7 separate regions of the Homo sapiens genome follow, and all the other regions are linked to region 2. The links are contacts of gene promoters, found by promoter capture Hi-C in blood cells and fetal thymus (Javierre and others, 2016). All regions are on one chromosome and are shown on one strand. Each heading gives the region's core, a stretch centred on a gene start or on the middle of the fragment in contact. The rest is flanking DNA. Distances are from core to core; before and after follow the strand shown.

Region 1 (3,028 bases), core at 267-2,766, 1.5 Mb after region 2:
TAATGATTGATGAAACACATGGGAAAAATTAATTGAATTATATTATAATCTCCCAGGGAAACATAATTAGGTTGTGAAGCATTCCCATGAAATCCTAAAAGCCCTGTATCATCAGGCAGTGACTTCTACTACATGATCAATAATTATATTAATTATAGATAATTATTTTGATAGGATGGTGTGACTTTGGGGCTCTACTTATTCTTGATCTGATGCATTGATCCAATGGTGATGACTTGGTTAGAGCCAGAGCTGAACATAAATAACTCTTTTTGGGTCCCACAAAGCTTTATGATACTTATGTTAACTTGTACTAATTTGTAAATCCTTGCCACCAATTTGATGCTTATTCACATAATCTAAAGGGTCATACTTGTGCAAGACTACCAGAATAGTAATTCTATTCTTAACTCTATAAGAAACAGAAGCAAACTACTCCAGCAAGTAATAGGTAATATATAATACATAAAATCCAATATTCCCTGAACTTTCAAAATTCCAAGACATCCAATACATTCATTGTGTGTACACAGGACTACCAAGCACATCCATGGCAACTCTGAGGCAGTGAGCTAAGAGAATCAGACCCAAAGTTAACAATGCTCAGAAAGTTAGGGTGACCATGGGTCCTTATATATTTAATATCTTTCTTTGTAAACACTTAACTATGAAGGCCATCCCTGGAATACATTTCTCTTAGTTACACATTTTAAGCACAGGCAAAAACTGAGACTTCTACCTGACCCTCTTTCAACACTTTCCAGAGACAGCCTCAGTGGGTGTATATGCCTTCTCACCTAAATAAAAGTATCAATAAGAGTCAACAGAAAATACAGAGAGATTTAAAATAAAAGTAATAACTCAAGGGTTCATATAGCAAATACACCAGATTTTTTTAAGATGACAACCATTATATGTTAACTTTCCTGAATTCTCCACATAACTCAAGATAACTTGGGTTGTTTTAACATAAAGGGATAATATAGTTTAAAAAACCACAGAGTGACAGAAATAAAATCACTTATAATTACACATTATTTTATCAACATTTCCTTAAAATATTTGTAAAACATCTTGCTCACATGATGGTTACTATACGAGACATTGTAGATTTTTCTCTCAATGAGGCAGAGAAGTTCACCATTTAAGAGTCTAGATTTAGGAGCCAAGGCCACCTGCCACTTACCACTTATATGGCTTGAACAATTTACTTACCCTTGCTCTGTGCCTCAGTTTCTGCATCTGTAAAATAGAGATAAAAATAATGTATGCCTAATGAAGTTATTATAAGGATTTAGTAAATTAATAAGCATGAGGCAATTAGAACATGCATGAGAAGTACTAAGCACTCAATTTATAATGGCTATTATCATTATTGCCCTTATAATATGTGTAGGTTGGCTTATCTATGGTCATATTACAATTTATTCAAGAATAGACTTCTTTAAAGTCACCATCCAGAGGATCTGAAAGCCAAGTTTTAGTCTCCAACTTAAGATATGCTTTCTTAAAAACACATTTAAAAAAGAAAAAGCATTCAGAGGACTTGAAAACATAAACTTACTCGTTATACTTTGACAACACACACACACACACACACAAACACAGAATAGTAACACCTCACAGCTCATTGCCAGAAGTTCCCACACAGGGGATTTGCCATAAAGAAAGCTAAATGTGACCCAATATTCTAGTGAGAGATCTCACCATTCAGAGCAGAATAACCTGAGAACAAAATAATGCAAAAAGCAGCCCGAGGTTCCTTTGTCTTTCCTCAGGTAAAATCAATTCCGTTATTATCCACAGTTGGGTACAGAATGGCAGATGAGCAGCATGGCTTCATCCAGCGATACCTCTCAGAGAGTGGACTGCATGGGTAATATCTCACACCCTGGTTCACTCAGCGTTGTCAAGAGAGAAAGGGGGAGATCCATTTTAGGTACGGAAATTCATTCTAAGGAACTATTAAGACATTAGAGAAGAAAAAAGGGAAGAAAAATCAGGCCAAATTCATACAGAAACACAGATTCCAGCCTGCCCCTATCCTCAGACAGAGAGGTCAAGGTGATGGGCGATATTGCCAGGCCCACTATCTTTCTCTCTACTCTTTTGTAGTGGGATGGTTTAGCCATATTTCCTATGTGTGGCAAGGAAATGAACCATGCACATGATGCTGCACAGCAAAGTGAAACAGAAAAAGGTTCTCAAAGAAAGTAGGCAGACATGAATGTAGAATTGTGTAACCCAAGAAATAGACCAACAAGGATGGAAAGTAAGAAAATGACTAGGTCTTTCTTAAAACTGCAACAATTAGGCAATTGAGCTAACTAATAGGATCTGAGAAGATGTAAATAAGTTTTCTTTTTTTTATTAACAAAAGAAATGAGGAGGCAAATTTCAGCCCAGATGAAAGAAGGTAAATGATTCCTCCCCAAAGGCAGAGCCAAGATTTCTCAAATGAGTTTCCTCCTAAAAGAGGCAGAAGTAAAATATATGACTCCAGATGACATAATGTGCTGTGGCCTAAATGTAGGCAGTGATAGTATCCTATTCTACAGGACAAGCTATGGGTAATTGAATGCAAGGCAAAGCAAAAATATAGAAAAGGCCACTCTGAAACAGAAACATAAAAATGCAGTGTGTGTAACAGTACTGAGAAGGGTACAGCTTTGTAGAACTGATTAATAAGGAGAGCGGTGAATAGAACAGAGTGGATTTGCAGAGATTAGGATGTAGCAAGCTTTGTCCAGAAGATTGTATAAAGTTCTTATTGGCCTTGAATCTAAAATAAGGTTAAAAAAAAAAAAAAAAGGCCAGGCGCAGTGGCTCACGCCTATAATCCCAGCACTTTGGGAGGCTGAGACGGGCGGATCATGATGTCAAGTGATGGAGACCATTCGGGCCAACATGGTGAAACCCCATCTCTACCAAAAATACAAAAATTAGCTGGGCGTGGTGGTGCGTGCCTGTAGTCCCAACTACTTGGGAGGCTGAGGCAGGAGAATCATTGAACCCGGGAGGCGGATGT
Region 2 (3,224 bases), core at 360-2,859:
GAGGCTGGGAGGCGGGAGGCGCCAGGGGACTTTACAGGCACGTTTCTGAATAAACTTTCCAATCGCAGGGGGTGCTGTTGCTGTACATTTTACGTAAAACTGAAAGTATCCCACGCCAGAGTGAAGCCCGCTTTTTGACAGCGGCAGCACGCGCGTGTGTGTGCGTGTGTGCATTAAAGAGACAGGGTTTTATTTCCAACAGGTCTTCCCTAATTTCCAGGGAACGTCTGCAGAAAGGCGAGAGGGGGCTGCTGGCTCCTGGGTGTGCGCCTTGGCCGGCGGCGCCTGGGGAGCGCGGCGGTGACCCGAGGCGGTCATCTCACCACCGTGGTCTCCCCGCTGCTCCTGCGAGCCTGTCGCTCTCTCTCCATTCCCATTTTCTCTTTCCCTGGGTAACAGCACAGGAACAGTTGTGCTCTGCCCGTAAGAAACATTTTCTTCCCATCCCTCTGTGCTTTTGCAGTTGCTCTGGAGTGGGAGGGGGTGTGTCCCTCCCAGGGACCCGGCTCGGGGACCTCCCGCGGCGCCGTGAGCACATTCCCAGGGACTGGGACTCCCGGGACTGCCCGCGCTTTGTCCTCGGCCTCTCAGAGAGGTGGACGCCTCGGTGCCTCTCTTGCCCAGGCCCCCGGCGCTCCCCTCCGGGGGCCAGACTCTGGCTCCTCGTTCTTTATTCCTCGGGCTCTCTTTCTGCGACCCTTAGGAGCCGGGGACTCGGCGCTTTCAGTTGCATTCAGACCCAGTCGCTTGGCGGGGCGCTCAGATTCCCGGTCCCTGGCTCGGCCTTGGGGGCGCCCTCGGGCCCCGGCCTGCGCCGCCTGCCTCTCCCCGGTCCCCTCTTTCCAGGCCGCGCGGGCTCCTGGAGACTTGGGCGCTGCCCTTCCGGACCCGCAGCCCTCCAAACTTAGGCTGGATTCCGCGTTGCCGTGCGCTCCCTCCCACCTCCCCTCGCCCGCTGCGGAGCTGTAACTTGGAGGCTCAGCTCTCAACTTCGGGTGATTTTTCTTTGCTGTCCTCTCCTCGGGCAAAGTTTCCCGAGCGCAGCCGCGGGCTCGGGGCTTTTACTTCGGCCCCTGGCGTCCACACGCGGGGAGCGAGCGCGGCGGCGGCGGGGAGGGGAAGTGGGTGTGCGTACGGAGGAGGGTGTCCGGGAGCAACTCTACCTGGCTTCCCTCCGCCCGCGCTTCCCCAGCCCGGGGCTGCAGCCTCCCGGTGCACTCTCGCTCTATTTTTTTCTTTTTTGAATAATCTTTCATTTTAGAGTCCGCGTGTGTGGGGGGGAGCAGGGCGCACGTCTTGCTCCCCCCCACCCTTTCCTCCCACCCCTGCCACCCCTTTCTTCTCTCCCGGCCACGCCACCGCCGCGGCGCTCGCTGCGGCCACTGGTGAGCCCGCGGCCCCAGCGCCCCCTCCCCTCGGCCCGCCCCTCCCCCGGGGGCCGCGTCTGGCGTCCGCGGAGCCCCCCGCCCCGCACCTCCCCCTCCCCGCACTGGCCATTGGCTTGTCCTGGTCTCTTTTTCATGTCCAGCCCCTGATGTGTGTCCATTGGTGTGAGCTTCCCCTTCCCTCCTCCCCTTCTCTCCTGCTCGCCCTGCCCATGTTTTGTGTGTCTCTGTCCATCCAGACTCCTGACGTTCAAGTTCGCAGGGACGTCACGTCCGCACTTGAACTTGCAGCTCAGGGGGGCTTTTGCCATTTTTTTCATCTCTCTCTCTCTCTCTCCCTCTATCTCTCTTCTCTCTCTCTCCCTCTTTTTTTTTTTTTTTTTTTTTTTTTTTTTGCTTAAAAAAAAGCCATGACGGCTCTCCCACAATTCATCTTCCCTGCGCCATCTTTGTATTATTTCTAATTTATTTTGGATGTCAAAAGGCACTGATGAAGATATTTTCTCTGGAGTCTCCTTCTTTCTAACCCGGCTCTCCCGATGTGAACCGAGCCGTCGTCCGCCCGCCGCCGCCGCCGCCGCCGCCGCCGCCCGCCCCGCAGCCCACCATGTCTCGCCGCAAGCAAGGCAAACCCCAGCACTTAAGCAAACGGGAATTCTCGCGTAAGTAACCCAATAATAGTAATAATAATTATTAATAATCACGAGAGCGCGCAGGACTAGAAGCAAAAGCGAGGGGGAGAGAGGGGTGTGTGCATGCATTTTTAAATTTTTCACGAGAAAAACCTCCGAGAGTCGAGGTAAAAGAGATAAAGGGGGAAAAAACCCTCATCCCATCTGGAACCATTGCCGTGTATGCACTTTTGAGACAGCACGCACCTTTTAATTTTATTTAATTTTACAAAAATTTGACTCCTCCTCTTTCCTCCTTTCCGCCGCTTTATTTCTCTTTTCGAAAAGGAATGCAATGATTCCACTCCCCCCCCGCCCCGCCAGTTTTGCAAAATAATGAACAATGCTAAGGTTGCGAACAACTCACATGCAAACCTGGGGGTGGGAGCTGGTGGGGAAAGGGAGGTTGCTTCCCACTCACCGTAAGAAAATGGGGGGGTAGGGAGGGAGTGAGTACAAGTCTAAAAAACGATTCCCGGGGAGAAAAGAGGTGAGACTGGCTTTTGGACACCAGCGCGCTCACGGTCAAGTGTGCAGCGGGAGGAAAGTAGTCATCCCCACAATAGTGAGAAAGTGGCACTGTGGAAAGGGGCCCCCGGCGCTCCTGAGTCCGCGGAGTCGGGAGAGGGGCCGCGGCGACGGGGAGAGCCGTGGGACCGGGAAGGACGGGAGACGCGGCCGGCACTGCCGCCTTTTGTTCCGGCCAGAGGTGGGTGTTTGTCCCGCTGCCTTTTGTGCCGGCTCCTCGCGCTTGCCCTCCCGCGCCGCCGCCGCCGCCGCCGCCGAAGGGCAGGAGCTAGGGCCGGGGGAGGAGGCGGCCGGGGGCACGCGGGAGAGGGAGGGAGGGAGCCCGGACTGCTGCCTCCTGGGTTGCCGCTGCCCTCCCCTCCCGACCGAACCTCAGAGGCAGCAAGGAGAAGACTGGCACATAAATAAATAAATACATAAAAATAAAATAAATAAAACAAGGCAAGAGAATGTACAATTTCTTGCCCCCAAACCGAAGCCAAACGCTCTGCCAACCCTTTTCTGTGACGGCCTTCTCTTTGACTCCCCCACCAGCCCCCCTGCAAAAATCTCACAATCTCTCATCTAGAAAAAAATTTACAATCACCCTCTTCCCCCAAACCCCTTCAGTTGCAAACTTAGGGCGCCGACGGCACGGAGA
Region 3 (3,254 bases), core at 638-3,137, 2.0 Mb after region 2:
AAGTAGAGGGTCAGAACTCAGAGAAATTGCCATGGGGGCACCAATTAATGAAAGTTAAAATGAACGAGGACACACACACTGCATCCCTCAGTGTCCTCCCTGCCTTGTTATTAAATGAATCGTGCATGCAAGGAGAACAGAGTTAGAAGAAAGCAAAGCCAGGAGCTCTCCCCCCATGCCCTAACCACTTCTTTCCTTCCCCCTCCACTCATTAGGGCCTTTTTCAAGCACATGGCTGCTGCAGATGTCCCTGAGAGAACATTTTGTTTCCCCCCTGCATCCAGGCTCAAACACCTGGGCTCTGACATGACGTCCAGTGGAGGCTATTTTCTTTCTCCTTTTTTAAACTTTCCTTTTATTTGGTTTGCATACAAGGCTAATAATGAGGTTTAAAAAACTATACACAATCAGTATACAATTACACTCATCGGGAGCCTGACATGTAATTTCTGATAAACCCATATAACTATGAACAGCAAAAGGAACCACAGAGCGCACACAATGTGTGGGGTCATCAGAACACAATGCCAACACAATCTCTGCGTCATGTCTTGTTGCATAGTATTAATCAGTGCAAACATTGTTTGGGAAATGAGAGGGGAGAGAAAGAGCAGTTTCCCAGCTGCTAGTGCTTTGCCATCAAATCTGATAGTCAGTTCCATGGAATATAAGAAACTTCAGTAATAAAGCTTAGGACCAAATAATGACTCTTGAAGACAGACTACTTAAATTATTCAAAATGAAATCAAATAATAACTCCTTATATATAATCCCAACTCTCCTGATAATTTCACATCAGACATTTCTTTAGCAACTTGTGTATTTTCATAAATTTAGAAAACGTATTTGCATCTTTAACAGGCCACAATTGGCGGGTACTGAACATCCACATTATCCAAATGATCAGTGTTACTGGTTAGTTAATTGCTACAATTTTGATTTATTTCAAATTTTTTATTTCTATATGTTGAAACATAATTATTTTTCTGTTGATTGTTATAGGTAAAGGACACAATAAGGTTTCATTAAGAAAGAATTATCCAGGACCACAAGATGACAGGCTGGGTCACTAGGGAGCACAATGCAATACTATTGTCAATACTATCGATATGTCTTAGGAAAAGTCAGTCTGGGAAATGCAGAAATGTCACAAGCTTTGTTTTACCTTCATTTTAATAGAGCATAGCATGACCTATATGGGAGGGGTTGACTACTTCAATTAGGTTTATGCTATTTTCAATAGGACTTCCAATCAGTGCATTTAGCTGGAAAGCAATTCCTGGCTTTATTATTACTGTTGTCATCCTTAAAATGCATTCTATTTATTTTTTTAATTTACCAGGAGGGGCAAAGGGAAGATGGGAGCAATAAAGAAAAAGGAGCCAGTAACATGCCCTCAGGGACCAATAGCAAAAGGAGAAGAATCATAGGGGAAGAGAGATAGGAGATGAAAATGAAAGACGTATCTTATTAAACCATCATAATTAAGAAGTAATAGGTATTCATAAAGAGACCCATGCCCAAAGGCCTGAAGATGTCTACAGTAGCAAGGGCCAATGTTTTCTAATAAGTAATAATTAACAAATAATCCACAATAAAAAGCAAATGGGACCCCACAAGAATGAGAAGGCAGAAATCTGCCTTCTTACAATTCCCCCCCGCCCTTCATAGTTTAGTGTGAACAGACCTAAACTGAAACACTAAAGAAAAGGAAAATTGGTGACCTCTTTTCAACAACAAGTAAATTCTGACACACACAGAAGTAAAAAGCATTTGATAACAGAGCACCTCATTCTCATCACCTGTAGCTTAAATACGGGATGGTGCCAGCTCTGAACCCTGAGATTACAAAGGCTGCCAGAGATCCAAGGGAATCGGGGCCTGATGATGAAACTGACCCCACATTATTTATTTCGGCACAAGACAGGAATTAATTGGATGGATTTTCCCTTAGCTCCTGCACTTTTTAAGTTAGCTGGACCTAAGACAAGGCTGAAGGGAAGGAGGAATACATTTGGTCCTTGGACACCCCCTAGTGTCTGTACTAGCACAAAAACCACTCGCAGGTATATCCCTTCCTTTCCTGCTATCCGGAACATGAGGGCCAAGATTGGCTCCTCAAGGCGGAAGTCCCAAGACTGCAGCCTCGACGGAAATCTACTTTCCCCTCAGGTCAGGAGGCCAAGTGTCAGACTCCTAACCCCTTTTGGATACTTTCTAGAATTTCTGTTTGCCAGTAACTTCGTGTCAATGTGTTGTAGTTTGTCTCAAGAAAATGTGAAAAATTATAGGTGGAGCCAGGAGGGGCCTATAATTTGCTTCAAGAAAAGAAAAAACAAAAAACCAGATGAATTTCAGTCAATACACTAGATGCAAAATGAAAAAGGGAAATGGAAGAAAAATCTGTTTCGGAGAATATATGGTAGTTTGTCTTCTATAGATAACTTGTGAGTGTTTGAATAAGCATTGTGATGTATTTATGTTTACCCATGTGATTGGATGTGAATACTGAATAAAGTCTGGGAAGACTGCTTGCCACTTCTCTCAGTCAGCGGTTCTTTGAGCAATATTCCATTTGTGTAATGAAGATATAATTTAAAAGTGGCTTAGAAAAGCTTTAGTGTAAGCGCCTTTGAAAGTTCCCATACAAATTATATGTGACTTCCTTTCCATCTAGGTAAATAAATTGTGTGTGTGCATAGGTGTGTGTCCCAGGATATCTGTGGACTAGGCTTCTGTGTTAAAATATTACTAAAATTATGAAGTATTACAATGAGTTTTATCCACTGTCATCTCAAAAGTATAAATGTCTCAGAATGTCATTACTATGTTTGGCTGTTGTAATTACCCAAATCTGCCCCAATACTGACCACAGTTCTAAGGAAACCATCATATATAGTTTTTTGTAGCATAACGCTTTTGCTCAACTGTTTTCAGGAAGCGGTCCATCATTCTATTAAATTTTGCAGCATATATTATGGCAATATAAACTACTTTTTCTTGCTGCATCTGAGAGGGTTGTACTGGAATTTATGCAAGGTCTGACCTTCACAGAATCATACAACTTTAGAGGCCAAGGGTCCTGAGAGACCACCTAATTCACATTCTTATTTAAGGAATGCATTGTTCAAAGTGATTTCATGACTTCCTCAGAGCCATGTGGCCAAGCTGCCAAAGAAGTTCTGCACCCAGCCCGTTTTGGGTCACTGATGTTTCTAAGCATAAAATTCTTTAAGAGGAGCCTGATAGACATG
Region 4 (3,153 bases), core at 249-2,748, 1.6 Mb after region 2:
ACCCTGCTTAAAATCAACTGGCCCCATCCCCCAGGTCAGCCTGGCTGGCTGCCCATCCACACATTTATGTCTGCCTTTTGAGTGTTTTCAGAAGACCATTAAATTGTGCCTTGGCAGGCCAGACACCTTCACCTTGCTCTGAGACCCAGGGAGAGGGGGTTATCAAATTCCCTCATCAGACAGTCCAAGCTTGAATTCTTGAGCCTGCAAAGAAGCTATGCAGTTGCACAAAGTAAGATGTTAGGACTTGTAAACATGTCATACAATATTATAATATGCCTGTGGGCACGGTTAAGTACAAAGGTTGGGCGGGCCTGGAGATACAAAGGCTGGCCTTTCTGTGGAGCTGTCTTAACGTACATTATTTTTTAGAGACAGCACAATGGGTATTAACTTGCATAAAGAAGCTAACTCCCATTCTTAAACTAGCTAGCCCTACAGTGCTCTTCAAGAGGGCTAAAATTTCAATGGCTATAGAGTGAAATAAAAAAAAAAAAAAAAAAAAGCACAACACCCTCATCTGATGCTGCATAGTGATGGAAAGCTTTGCTCCCACCAAAAAGGGTTCCCATTCCCGCCCTGGTTCTAAGACTGACTTTGACGCCCTGGGTGCATTCAAAAACCAAGATAATTTGGGTAAAGGAGCAAAAGTTCTGTTTGTTGTTGGCCTAGCCTCCAAATCTTTGGGCAAATTGAAATAGACCTGGCTGGTCCTTTTTCTACCAAAAAGTACCCCTTAAATATTATTTTTGTTAGTATTGGAGAGTCCTGTGATTCTAGACTATTATATCTAACGCCTGCCTATTGCTTTAGGCAGAATTAAGATGGAGTTGGGGGTTGAGTAATAAGATCCACTTGCATCAACCTTATTTCTTGTCTTAGAGATGAGATAGAAATTGATGAATTGGAGGAGGAAGTGCAGTGTTTCCTTCTCTCCCCTCTCAATCCCACCTTCCTTTCTTTTTCCCCCCTTCCTTCCTCCCCACCTTACTGACTTCTCTTCCTTCCTTCCTCCCTGACCTTCCTTCCTTCCTTCTTTTGTCATTAAACACAGTACCATTTACCTTCTACAAGAAATCTGATGGAATTTAATCTACAACATGGTTCCAGACCGGAAGTACAGCTGTGCAGCAGAAAGGGGGCAATGGGGGAGGTGATATTTTATAACACAAAACAGGCAGGACTACTCTGGACAGAAGATAATGCAAACTAGGTTTGCTGGAAATGAGCTGCAAAATACCTTCATTTTCTACTACAGTGAAACCCTGATAAAATCACAACTGTTAAGGTCATACAGTATATCAGGTGGAATCACAGTCTTTAGAACTCCATTATTAATGCAGACAACCTCACAATCAAAGAGGATGAGAGCACAGTTTCCAGATGCCAATGATTTGATCATATCTTATTTGGCTGTTTACATTTAAATAATGTGACTGTATAAATTTAAATAATATGAACCACCAACAGACAGATCCCAGTGAAAAACTGCCCCTTCTCTGAGACCCTGAATGTACACTATACAGCACCTTACAATCTATTTGAGCAGAGCTCATATTTTTTAAAAAATGGGGAGGGGATAAAAAAAGAGAGACTCATTTCTTCTGCCATTATGGAAATAAAAGGACTACCGCTTTAGTTCGTGGCTGGCTGTGCCAAGGAAACATGCAGTTCTCTAACCTCCGGTACGATGTACCCATAAGGTACCAAGCATCAAAGCATATTAAAAGATATTAACTGCATATTTGCTTATGAACAAGATAAAAAGCTGTAGGGCCTCCAGGTTCTCAAGCTGTGAGTGGAACAGCTTTGCAATTTGCCTGCAAAACTGCATTTTGATCTTAATGAATATAAAATGGCTGCCATTAAAAGTAAAACAGATTATTTCGGGTCTTCCAGGGCCCATAGCTCTTTGCTGGCCTTGGAGGGCCACTATGATCTTTCATTAAAATCTCACAGCAGGGCTCCCTCACCAGCAAATCAAGCCTTGCAGTCTAGGAGATTGGCTACATTTAAAAGTAATTTTCAGAAATCTACACAGATTTTCAATTTGGTAATGAAAGCCATAAGAGAATGCAGGCGGCATTTTGTCGAATATTGTTACTGATCCAGCACTCACATTCGTTAGAAATTAAACTGCCCCGTAACTATCACACTGATGGCAGCTTGCCATTTCGGCTGCGTTCTAATCTCCGTTTGTTAATGAGTAGCATGTGCTAATTGTTGTCATCCTTACTGCCGAGCAGTCCTTCCCTAACAAACATATTTTACCTGCTCAGAGGTGGAACCTTACGCTTTGTCACAGAGCGGGTTGGAATGGAGTGTTGAGATTGCAGCTGTGTTGTAAAGGGAGGCAGCCCAGCATTGTGAGACAAGGCAAGAGAGAATATGATTTGAAATTGGGTGCGTTTGTATTATTTGAATCCGTCAGTTTGTTTTTCACTCAAGCTTAACTTTTCTAAAGTCCTGGAGTCAGCAAAATGTTAATACTTTTGTGTTACTCCCAAGAGCAGTTTGAACAAACCCACAAAATCTGAGCACAACTAAGGTGAAATCAATTGGAATTAAAATGAGGGAGAGGCTTCAGGTAAGAAGGCATGAACATACCAAGGACCTCACCTACTAGCCAGTCAGGGAGGAGAGCCACCCCTCAAACCTAACGTGGATGTGGGGCTGCCACTGGCTTTCAAGAGAAAGTTCGATTCTTTAACTCCATCACTTCGGTCCTAAAGGCTGGGAGGTGGAGGCCATTGCATTACTCTCAAGTGGATAGTCCTAAGGGAATAATCATATGGACCCACGATAATGTGGTTCCAAGGAGAGCGGGCACCAGAGAAGAGGAAACACTAATAAATTCAGCATCCTGACGTGTGCTGCAGGCAGACATTTGAAAAAAGAAAAGCATATGAAATGATTATGAATAAAACATTATTAAATACAAGAAAATGTACATAAATGCATTCTAAGACCAAATGGGTTTTTTTGTTTGTTTGTTCGTTTTTGCCTTTGCATGTCCTCCTACCTGATATAAGAACTGAGGAAAGTTATTTTTCTGAGATCCGAGAAACAAAAATGTCAGATTATGCTTCCCTATTGGAAAATGCATTCAATAAATTTTCTTTACTTGGCAATTCTCTTTACCTGGCACCTTTA
Region 5 (2,893 bases), core at 209-2,708, 1.2 Mb after region 2:
AACCCGGTACCTCAGTTGGAAATGCAGAAATCACCCGTCTTCTGCGTCACTCACACTGGGAGCTGTAGACCGGAGCTGTTCCTATTCGGCCATCTTGGCTCCTTCCCATCTATGTCTTCTTCATAAAGAACGTGATTTATGACTCCTTGGCCTCTATAAATTTCTTATGTATCATGTAGTTATACCTTTCTCAAAATTCAAGGAGAGTTTTTTGTTTGAATGTTCTGAGATTTGTGAATAAGCAAATGTAATGTATGCTAATGTGCCACATTCTCTTTAAGAAGAATACCATATAATATGTTCTTTCTGGGTAATTTCTGAATGTTGTTTCATATCGAGTGGGTTCTGGCTGCAGTGTTAGCATGTTCAAGGAATTTGGATTGGTAACTTTTGTGGAATCATTTGTATAGTCATATTATTTAATAGGAAATATATTAGAGTTCTACAGTCAATATTTTACAGGCAACTTGAGAAAGACATTTTCTAGTAAAATTTAGTAAAGTTAATAAGCTGTTTTTATTAGTTTTATTGAGTTTTAAATAGGTAAGACATACGCATTGCTCAAAACTTACAAGGTAGAAAATGGCATTGAGTGAAAAGTAAGTTTCCATCTCTCTTTTGACCACCCAACCACCCACTATTCCATCTAGGGCAAACATTTTGCCAATTTCTTGACTATCATTTTGGATATAGCCTTCAAGAAATGTTCTATACATTTACCTGCAGTCGATATGTGTGTGTGTGTGTGTGTTTACACAAATGTTTATAAGATATAAATACATTTCTGTAACTTAATTTTATTACCTAATGTATTTTGGAATCTTTCCATATTCATGCATGTGGAGACAAGCTATTTTTCTTAATAGCTATAGATTCTTTCATTGTACAGACATATTGTAAGTGCTTTTTAAAAATTATATTACCAGATAACCCTTCCTTTCATAGATAGTTTGGAAATTTGAAAAAAATTATAAAATCTACTTCTGGATCACCAGATTATATCTATTATCTTATAAATATCAACAGAATAAGGATTTTATTCTCGGCATTTTCTGTGAATAGGGTGGTTCTCTTTCCTGCTCATTTATCCAAATATTTCTGAATACATTCTTATAATTTAAATATTAACAACATCTAACAAAAACTTATATCTGAGATAAATGAATATCCACATGTAGAAGATGAATTTGGACCCCTGCATCACATCATACACAAAAATGGACTCAAAGTAGATCATAGACCTACATATAAAAGCTAAAGCTATAAAACTCAGAAGAAAATATGAGAGTAAATCTTTGTATGTTGGGTTTGGCAATGACTTTTTAGATATGCCACCAAAAGCACAAGTGATAAAAGAGAAGACTGACAAATGGAACTTCCTCAAAATTAAAAATGTTTTGCTTTAAAGGACTTCAAAAGAAAGTAAAAAGATAACCTATGTACTGAGAAAATATTTGCAAATAATGTATCTGATAAGGGACTTGTGTGCAGAATATATAAAATACTCTTACAAATCAACAAATACCACGTTCTCACTTATAAGTGGGAGCTAAATGATAAGAACACATGGACACGTAGAGAGAAACAACACACACTGGAGCCTTTTGGAGGGTGGAGGTGGGAGGAGGGAGAAGATCAGGAAAAATAACTAATGGGTACTAGGCTTAATTCCTGGGTAATGAAATAATCTGTAAAACAAACCCCCATGACACAAGTTTACCTATGTAACAAACCTGCACTTGTACCCCTGAACTTAAAAAGTATTTGTTAAAAAAGACAAATGATCCAATTAAAAATAGGCAAAATATTTAAATAGATATTTTTAGAGGTGATATACAAATTGTGAATACACATAAAATGATGCTCAGTACCATTAGTCACTAGGTAGACAGCAAATCATAACAAGATACCACTTCAAAACCTCCAATCAAAATGACAAGCAATAATAACAAGTATGGGTGAGGACGTGAGAAATTGGAAGTATACACTGCTAAAAGAAATATAAGGTAGTGCAGGTACTTTGCTAAAAGAAATATAAGGTAAACATATACCTTATATACTTTGCTGAAAGAAATACATTGCTAAAAGAAATATACACTGCTAAAAGAAATATAAGGTAGTGCAGCTACTTTGGAGAACAGTTTTCGAGTGTCTGAAATGTTAAATATAGAGTTATCATATAATCCAGGTAATCCATCTGATATCTTTTTGTGTATCCTCTAAAATTTTTTTGATATTAAATATTTTTAAATCTCTTAATTTCTCCCCAAAGGATCTTAACTTCTAAAATTCCCATTGAACCTCCACCAAGCTCTTCAAATTCTCTACACCGCCCTAGGTATATAACCAAGAAAAATAAAAACATATGTCTACAGAAAAACTTGTACACAAATGTTCACATTAGTATTATTCATGATAGCCAAAAGTAGAAACAACCCAAATGCCCATCGACTGATGAATGGATAAATAAAACATGATATATCCACACAATGGATATTATTTGGCAATATAAAAAATGAAGTATTGATACATGCTACAACATGGATGAACCATGAAAGCATTATGCTATGAAAGAAGCTAGTCACAAAACACCGTGCCTTATATGAAACCTTTTATTAAAAATGTCCCAATAGGAAAATCTACAGAGATAGAAAAGAGATTAGTAGTCACCTAGAACTGGGGATGGGGGAGTTAGAGTAAGTGCTATTTGGTTTGTGTTTTCCTTTGGGCATATTAAAAATATTACGATTATGGTGATGGTTGCATAACTCTGCAAATGCACTAAAAATCATTGAATTGTACATATTAAGTGGGTGAACCTCATGGTATGTACATTTTATCTCAACAAAGCTGTTTAAAAGTAAAAACAAAAAATGAAATCTATCTTTTTTCC
Region 6 (3,334 bases), core at 113-2,612, 1.7 Mb after region 2:
CTTTAATGGTTGTTCACTTACAAGCGATTGTGGGTCATTACACAATCATTTAAAGGGCATTAATGAGAACCATTTAATGGTTTTAGTAGAATATCATTGTAAGGGACAGGGGAAAAGTTACTGGCTGTAAATTTTTATGACCATTTCTTACAAAACGTATTACTTTAAAGATTTATGTATGTAACAATGAGTACAATAAAAGCCATGCTAAAAATAATTTGAAATCAAAGTAATGCATATAGATAAGTCTTTGCTCTGCTGCCATTGGGTAGGCCTTTAAAAAAAAAACCTTCCTTTTCACCTTCCTTATCCTCTTTGTGTGTGTGTGTGTGTGTGTGTGTGTGAGAGAGAGAGAGAGAGAGAGACAGAGAGAGAGAGAGAGAGAGAGAGAGTCTTGCCCTGTTGCCCAGGCTGGAGTGCAATGGCACAATCTTGCTCACTGCAACCTCCACCTCCAGGGTTCAAATGATTCTCTTGCCTCAGCCTCCTGAGTAGCTGGGATTACAGGCACCCGCCACAACATCCAGCTAATTTTTGTATTTTTAGTAGAGACGGGGTTTCACCATATTGGCCAGGCTTGTGTCAAACTCCTGACCTCGTGATCTGCCCTCCTCGGCCTCCCAAAGTGCTGGGATTACAGGCATGGGCCTCTGCACCCGGCCTCCTTCTCCTCTTTCCTCTCCTTCTTCCTTCCTCCTTCCCTGCCTCCCACCCTTCCTCACTCTTTCCATTTTCTTTCTTAAAGAACACTTCAGTACTATGAAAGATTTTGTTTTAATGAAAATGATTAGAGATTGAAATACTAATTAAAATGTTTTCTAGTTGGAGGGCAGGGTAGACAAAGAGGTAAATATAGCAGCACCGCATTGCATAGAAATGCCTAGATGTAGTGAATCTTTGTTTACAGACCTTTCTTCAATATATCATTAGTTCAAACTATTTCCTGTTATATACCATAGGACTAAAATAGAATATCCAATACTTTCTAGGACATCAATCCCTGAGGTAGGACAGGGAACTAAAAAAGAACTAGTCCTGGTAGGATAGCCATGAAGATCTGTAAAATACAGACAGAAATCATCCTCACGTGTGCACAGAGGAGCAACATACATCTTGCTCCGTGTAGCTCATCTCTTGAAAAGAAACGGGTATTTGAGAAGCTCACTCTACTGAGGGAGTAACCTTATTAAAGTGCTTTAATAACACAACAGTCATCATATTATGCCTGGTTTTGTCCACTTATGATTCTTGTGGAATACATAATGAATAAGACAATGCCCCTTTCCCAGTATTCTTGCATAAGCAGGGAGAATATTTCTAATTAAAAAGGCAGAGTTAGTACAGCACATGAAATGAACAGAACCATATCTCTCGAAATGCTGAGATTTTACTATTTGCATTGTCACACTTGTATTTCTTTCTGAATCTAGCCCAATGCCCATTACCAATAAGATGAAGATTTAAGATAACTTGGTCAAAAGATGGTGAATTACAACTTTTAATTAAAATGTGGAAAATAGTTGCTTTAAAATAAACATGATAATACTTTCATGACCATTAATTTTTTATGGAGAGAACAACAAAAGCAACCTGAATATTTTAGAATGTGATATTATAAAGTCAGACAAAGGGGATTTTTAGAAAGTTATGGATGTCCCAGAGAGATGCTTGTGCACCTGCTATTCTTCATTTCTAGTGCCCTTGGAAACCCCAGCAGAATGCAACCCATACATCTGGACCCACAGTGATTTATTTACTTGACTGTACTCAGGTAAAGCCAATGATGACCATGATGATAAGATAGTAGGAAACTTTGGGGTTGACACAGCATATTTACATCAAAGAACAATTCAATAAATATTAATTGATAATAGGGAGAAGAAGAGCTGATTTCTTAATGTGACCTGTAAATATTAATATAAAATACAATTTTTATAAATCTAATATAGGGTTTAAATATTATTGATACTATGTTGTAGATTGAATATAGCAATATGATTGAAAGATTGGTGATTTGTTTGAGTGTGCACTATGGTTCACTTCACCATCATTAGTTCATATTCATGCAGACTTAGCTTCACACTTTCTACCATTGTTTCTAACTCTTCCCCTAAATAAATGTCCTATTACCATTAAGTCTTCTCTGACTGAATATGTGTGCAGAGTCATCTCTCCATCATTTTATTCAAGCCAATTTCTGCCAGGAATTACCCTGATTTCTCCCTGCCCACATACTGTCTGTCTGGATCAGCACACCCCTTCCAGGAAGCCTTCCTTGATTACTCTTACTAAAGGCCTGGCTTCAAAAATCTAAATCTACCCCTGCATACTTAGGTGAACCATGGTAGGAGTCACTGAGGAGCCAGGATTGTTCACCTTCTGGCAGGCCAGGCATTCTTTTGGATCAGTTGTCATCTTCATCCATAAAATAAGGAAATAATCATGTCTGCCTTGTAAGGCGGGTGTGATAATTACATAAAACACACATAAAAAAGCATCTGGAACAGCTTAGTTTCATAATAAATGTTTTACTTCCTTGTCTCTTTCCTTACCTCTTGAATTCAGAGAAATTTCTAAGCCATTCAGATATAGTAACTTATTATATTTACTTACTTTCTTGTAACTTTCAATTTTTATTTTGTGGCCCTTCGTTTTCCATTATGTCTCCCAATTAGTCTATGATTCCCCAAAGGAAGGGACCCTTATTTATGTATCCTCATATTCCCTGCCTCATCTAGTGTAGTTCCATATGCACAGTTAGGATCAATAAATATCTACGAGAATTAATATTAATCACTTTCTCCAGTGTTTGCATCAAATTTTAATTTTCATAAAAGCCCCAAATTCTGAACAATGTATTCTACTTTTGCATCTTCTGCTATACTGTACATGACTGAATTTACATACAGGGTGGTGAGGGAGGCATCAAACTGTTTTCAGGTAATTTCTTATCACCTGAGCTGGACAGCCATGTTAGGTAACACGTGGTACTAACAAATCCAAGATTATACATTTGATTCTAATGTGAGTGTGTTTATTTTGCAGAATGAAATTTTCTATACCTAAGAACTTCGTTTTTGTACTGCTGGGAAAGTGTCAGAAAATAAAAATAAAAGAGTGCTAATGATCCCAAGATGGTCTTAGGAAGTGAGCAGTGAGAATCAACACAAACAGGAAAAATAAAAATTAAGCTCCATACATTATGGATGGAAAGAAGATACCTGTGTTGTCTTGGTAGTCAAAGGGCAGTGCATTTTAACATTCACCATTTAACTTACAAGCTTCTTCCCATCATTGCATTGGGGTAGGTGTGGTGCATAAAGGTGGCAGAGCA
Region 7 (3,046 bases), core at 96-2,595, 1.6 Mb after region 2:
AACCAAAAGTACTGTACTACTTCGGTCTTTCCCTGGTTGAACTCAAAGAAAGAATTTCCATCCATAGTGCATAAAGAAGAAGCATGCCTTCCTTGTGTTCATCCCTTTTTTCTTATAAATGTTTTCTTAATGATTAAAATCCTGGATTAGTATCTATCAATTACTGACCCTTAAATCAGAATTGGAGATTCATAAGCTGCCAGTCTTAGAGGTAACCACGAGACTCTTCCCAAATCACTAATAACTCTCATTGCTTGGAGACTGCCTCTAGATATCATTCTAGAGATAGAATTTGTTCCTGGGGATTTTGCTCTGCTTGTCCATGATCTTGAACTATAGGACCTTATTCTTGCCCTTAGATGACACATGATTCCATCTAAATAGGTAAAATGAGGTGCAAAGGGAAGAAAATCTACCAGTAGAACATACTTGAAACATTTGGAATCTATGGGCCTGATTCCCAGAAATCTGAATTAAAATGAGATTTGAAATGAGAAAAAAATGTTGATGTTTCTAATCATTCTAATAAAATTATCTAGCTTCTGCTAGATCATTTTTTATACCAAGAGCTGTGCTCTATTCTATATGGAATAGACTACGCTAAGCTGGATAAAATATGTCACCTTAGGCACCTGAATTAATAGTTTGGTTATGTACTCGGTTAAGTCTTTACTATAGATCACCATAAGTATGCTAGGCAGACAATTCTCTAGAGCTAACATTTTAAAAAGGTGCCAAAGCCTCTTTGAGATCTGTGTGAATTATCCAGATTCAGGGAAAAAAATGTTAAATATACTGCGCTTTTCTACCCCCCTCATTTCTTAGTTGCATTGAATAAGTAAAATTGCAGCAAAGTTGGCAAGAATAAATACTTCCTCGGTTTTTCTAAAGCTGCAATTAATGATAATGAAGCTATACCTTATATGGCAAGAAATACAGTACAAACTGGATAAGTAAGAAAAATGATCAGCCATTGTGTGCCTCCGATATAGTACATCAAGGTATCGCCACTGTGAGGCTATCTTTATTTTAAACCATTAAACAAAACAATATAAATCTGCAGGCAGGTGTTTCTTGTTGCAGAAGTATTGAAAGTTGTAATGCAAACAATCTAATTTTAGCATCTATGTAGAGTGTGAAGTAAATTTACTGATCACTGATGCATTGAGCATAGGAAGAAACAATCAGCAGGAGCTTTCAGCAAGATTATCCTATTAAAGCAGGAAGACTTCACGTGGTTGTTAAGGAAGTAGTCAAAAGCAGGTGATGGAAGTGGGGGTTTGACGACTCGTCAGTGGGCCCAGTGTACATGTTAAGTTGTTGTTTTCTGCTCAGCTAAGCAGCAGAGAATTGATATGTTAGCAATGAAGTGCAATGACAATTAAATTGTAACTGACCTACATGTTACCGTCATTACGCGTTCTCTTTTTTACTGCTTTCCCTCTTATTTAATCACACAGTATGGGGTTTTTATTAGGCTGTAATGTTAAAATCTTCATCCATTTAGCCATAAATGTGTGACTGGATATCTATCAGACTTCCTTGCACTATACAAACAAAGCCATTTTGCTGAATCACTGTTGACTTGTTTGTGGCCTAATTTAATGAGTGTAATAACTTACATTACTATCCAGTTAACATTTAGGAGCCCAGAAAAGACCTGCTAGCACGCAGTAAGCTACTGTATACATTCTCTATTCATATCACTCCCCTTTGCAGTAAATTTTATACAATAATATGCACTGCTTACAACATAAGCTCAGCTTCCATCAGCTGAGGATAGCACTCTAGTAAGTTCACTGTGCTCAGCCTGAAATGCTTCCTACACATGGGAACCAACCAATATGATTCTCTTTTTCTGGATACTATAGTGGCTATATCTTCATCCCTTATAAACATAATAAACACAGGTTATATAACCTGCAGACAAAGATAGTTTCGCCTTTCTTCCCATTTGTCTTACTGATATTTTAAGCCTCTTCCCACCCCCAAACTCGGGAATGAAAAATAGTTACTCAAGGAGAGGGAAATAGAAACCATTGTCAATTAAACAAAATAGAGTAGAGTTCCAGGATAAAATATAAAAGCAGTAAGTCAACAAATAAACTGGGTTGTCCCTGTTTATATGTATATGATTAAACTGTCCATGATCTTGAATATGCACTATTTTATATTTCCCTGTACTAAAGTTACCCATCCTCCCATTTGACCCACACACATCTATTTGCTGTCTTGCTAAATGTTTCTTTAACACAATCATATTGAAATTTATCTGTGTTTCCATTACATTACTTTGAAACAAAGATTTAAGAAAATCTTTGTCACTTGACTTTGCCTTAGCCATTTAACTAGCACCTGACAATTCAGTGAATCACCAAAAAAAACTCATTACTTTCATACTAATTTTATGCACAGATGACACAATCAAAGCTCTTCACTTGCCCAAAATAATCATCATTTAAGAAGAAATACATACACATACACACAGAGTTGACAATTTACAAACAAGCACTTCCACATCGAGAGATTTGGAAGAGATGGACCTTAGTTTTTCTTTCCCCTTTCAGAGCAGCATTACTTCATTGTTTGAGTCAAGATTTAAGCCTTTAATTACTATCCATTACACAATATCTCAGATTGACATTATAATCTTAGAAGTTACCAATAATAGGGTGGGAAAAAAATTATAGATGGAAGAGATAGTTCTACATTTTATTCCTTTTCATGAAATAGGCAGAGGCAACCTTCAGGCTTCTCATCCCAGGAGAAAATGCATTATTCTGGACAAGTGGGAGTTTACTTTGGTTTTCATAAACGATGGGCTACGTAAAATTTTTAGATGCTAATTAGGACCTCTATGTCTGTAGGTGTATCGACTCTCCAAAAAAAGCATTTTATTGACAACTTTCAATAAAATATGTAAACTCTCAGGTCCTAGAAATTAGTGGGGAAAGCAACCATAATATAATTTTATTTCTTCACCATTAAGCTCCTACAAATTCCAGGCACTCTTCTAGGCCCTGGGGAAAAGGCTACCAAGATAAAA

Evidence for each region. Contacts are between HindIII fragments. The CHiCAGO score rates a contact against its expected background, and 5 or more counts as called.
Region 1: a fragment that was not itself captured here is called in contact with the fragment with the promoter of BCL11A in region 2 in 1 of 17 cell types (naive B cells); the score reaches 5.1 in naive B cells.
Region 3: a contact is called between a fragment that was not itself captured here and the fragment with the promoter of BCL11A in region 2, in 1 of 17 cell types (endothelial precursors). The highest score is 5.7, in endothelial precursors.
Region 4: a contact is called between a fragment that was not itself captured here and the fragment with the promoter of BCL11A in region 2, in 2 of 17 cell types (endothelial precursors and megakaryocytes). The highest score is 10.9, in endothelial precursors.
Region 5: a fragment that was not itself captured here is called in contact with the fragment with the promoter of BCL11A in region 2 in 1 of 17 cell types (megakaryocytes); the score reaches 5.3 in megakaryocytes.
Region 6: a fragment that was not itself captured here is called in contact with the fragment with the promoter of BCL11A in region 2 in 2 of 17 cell types (megakaryocytes and M1 macrophages); the score reaches 6.1 in megakaryocytes.
Region 7: a fragment that was not itself captured here is called in contact with the fragment with the promoter of BCL11A in region 2 in 1 of 17 cell types (megakaryocytes); the score reaches 6.1 in megakaryocytes.

Annotation. Positions count from the first base shown.
Region 1 is chr2:59,021,170-59,024,197 of GRCh38, reverse strand. It overlaps LINC01122 (long intergenic non-protein coding RNA 1122), which reads right to left. Exons shown (of 14, transcript NR_033873.1): 10 at 1,216-1,242. Among named protein-coding and RNA genes, the nearest start is that of LINC01793, 200 kb to the left of the region's middle. The HindIII fragment of the contact is 2,453 bases long and covers 290-2,742 here.
Region 2 is chr2:60,552,039-60,555,262 of GRCh38, reverse strand. It overlaps BCL11A (BCL11 transcription factor A), which reads left to right and starts at 1,609. Exons shown (of 4, transcript NM_022893.4): 1 at 1,609-2,047. The coding sequence starts at 1,993. RefSeq lists silencers at 1-99, 1,040-1,129, 2,539-2,898 and an enhancer at 300-349. The HindIII fragment of the contact is 6,342 bases long and covers 1-3,224 here.
Region 3 is chr2:58,570,212-58,573,465 of GRCh38, reverse strand. All of the region lies in intron 1 of LINC01122 (long intergenic non-protein coding RNA 1122), which reads right to left. Among named protein-coding and RNA genes, the nearest start is that of LINC01122, 51 kb to the right of the region's middle. RefSeq lists an enhancer at 1-872. The HindIII fragment of the contact is 1,461 bases long and covers 1,157-2,617 here.
Region 4 is chr2:58,971,031-58,974,183 of GRCh38, reverse strand. The region is part of intron 6 of LINC01122 (long intergenic non-protein coding RNA 1122); the gene reads right to left. Among named protein-coding and RNA genes, the nearest start is that of LINC01793, 250 kb to the left of the region's middle. RefSeq lists an enhancer at 790-2,414. The HindIII fragment of the contact is 1,904 bases long and covers 547-2,450 here.
Region 5 is chr2:59,323,522-59,326,414 of GRCh38, reverse strand. The region is part of intron 2 of LOC105374754 (a long non-coding RNA gene); the gene reads left to right. Among named protein-coding and RNA genes, the nearest start is that of LINC01793, 110 kb to the right of the region's middle. The HindIII fragment of the contact is 6,474 bases long and covers 1-2,893 here.
Region 6 is chr2:58,877,919-58,881,252 of GRCh38, reverse strand. All of the region lies in intron 3 of LINC01122 (long intergenic non-protein coding RNA 1122), which reads right to left. Among named protein-coding and RNA genes, the nearest start is that of LINC01793, 340 kb to the left of the region's middle. The HindIII fragment of the contact is 3,843 bases long and covers 1-3,283 here.
Region 7 is chr2:58,904,799-58,907,844 of GRCh38, reverse strand. The region is part of intron 3 of LINC01122 (long intergenic non-protein coding RNA 1122); the gene reads right to left. Among named protein-coding and RNA genes, the nearest start is that of LINC01793, 310 kb to the left of the region's middle. The HindIII fragment of the contact is 5,186 bases long and covers 1-3,046 here.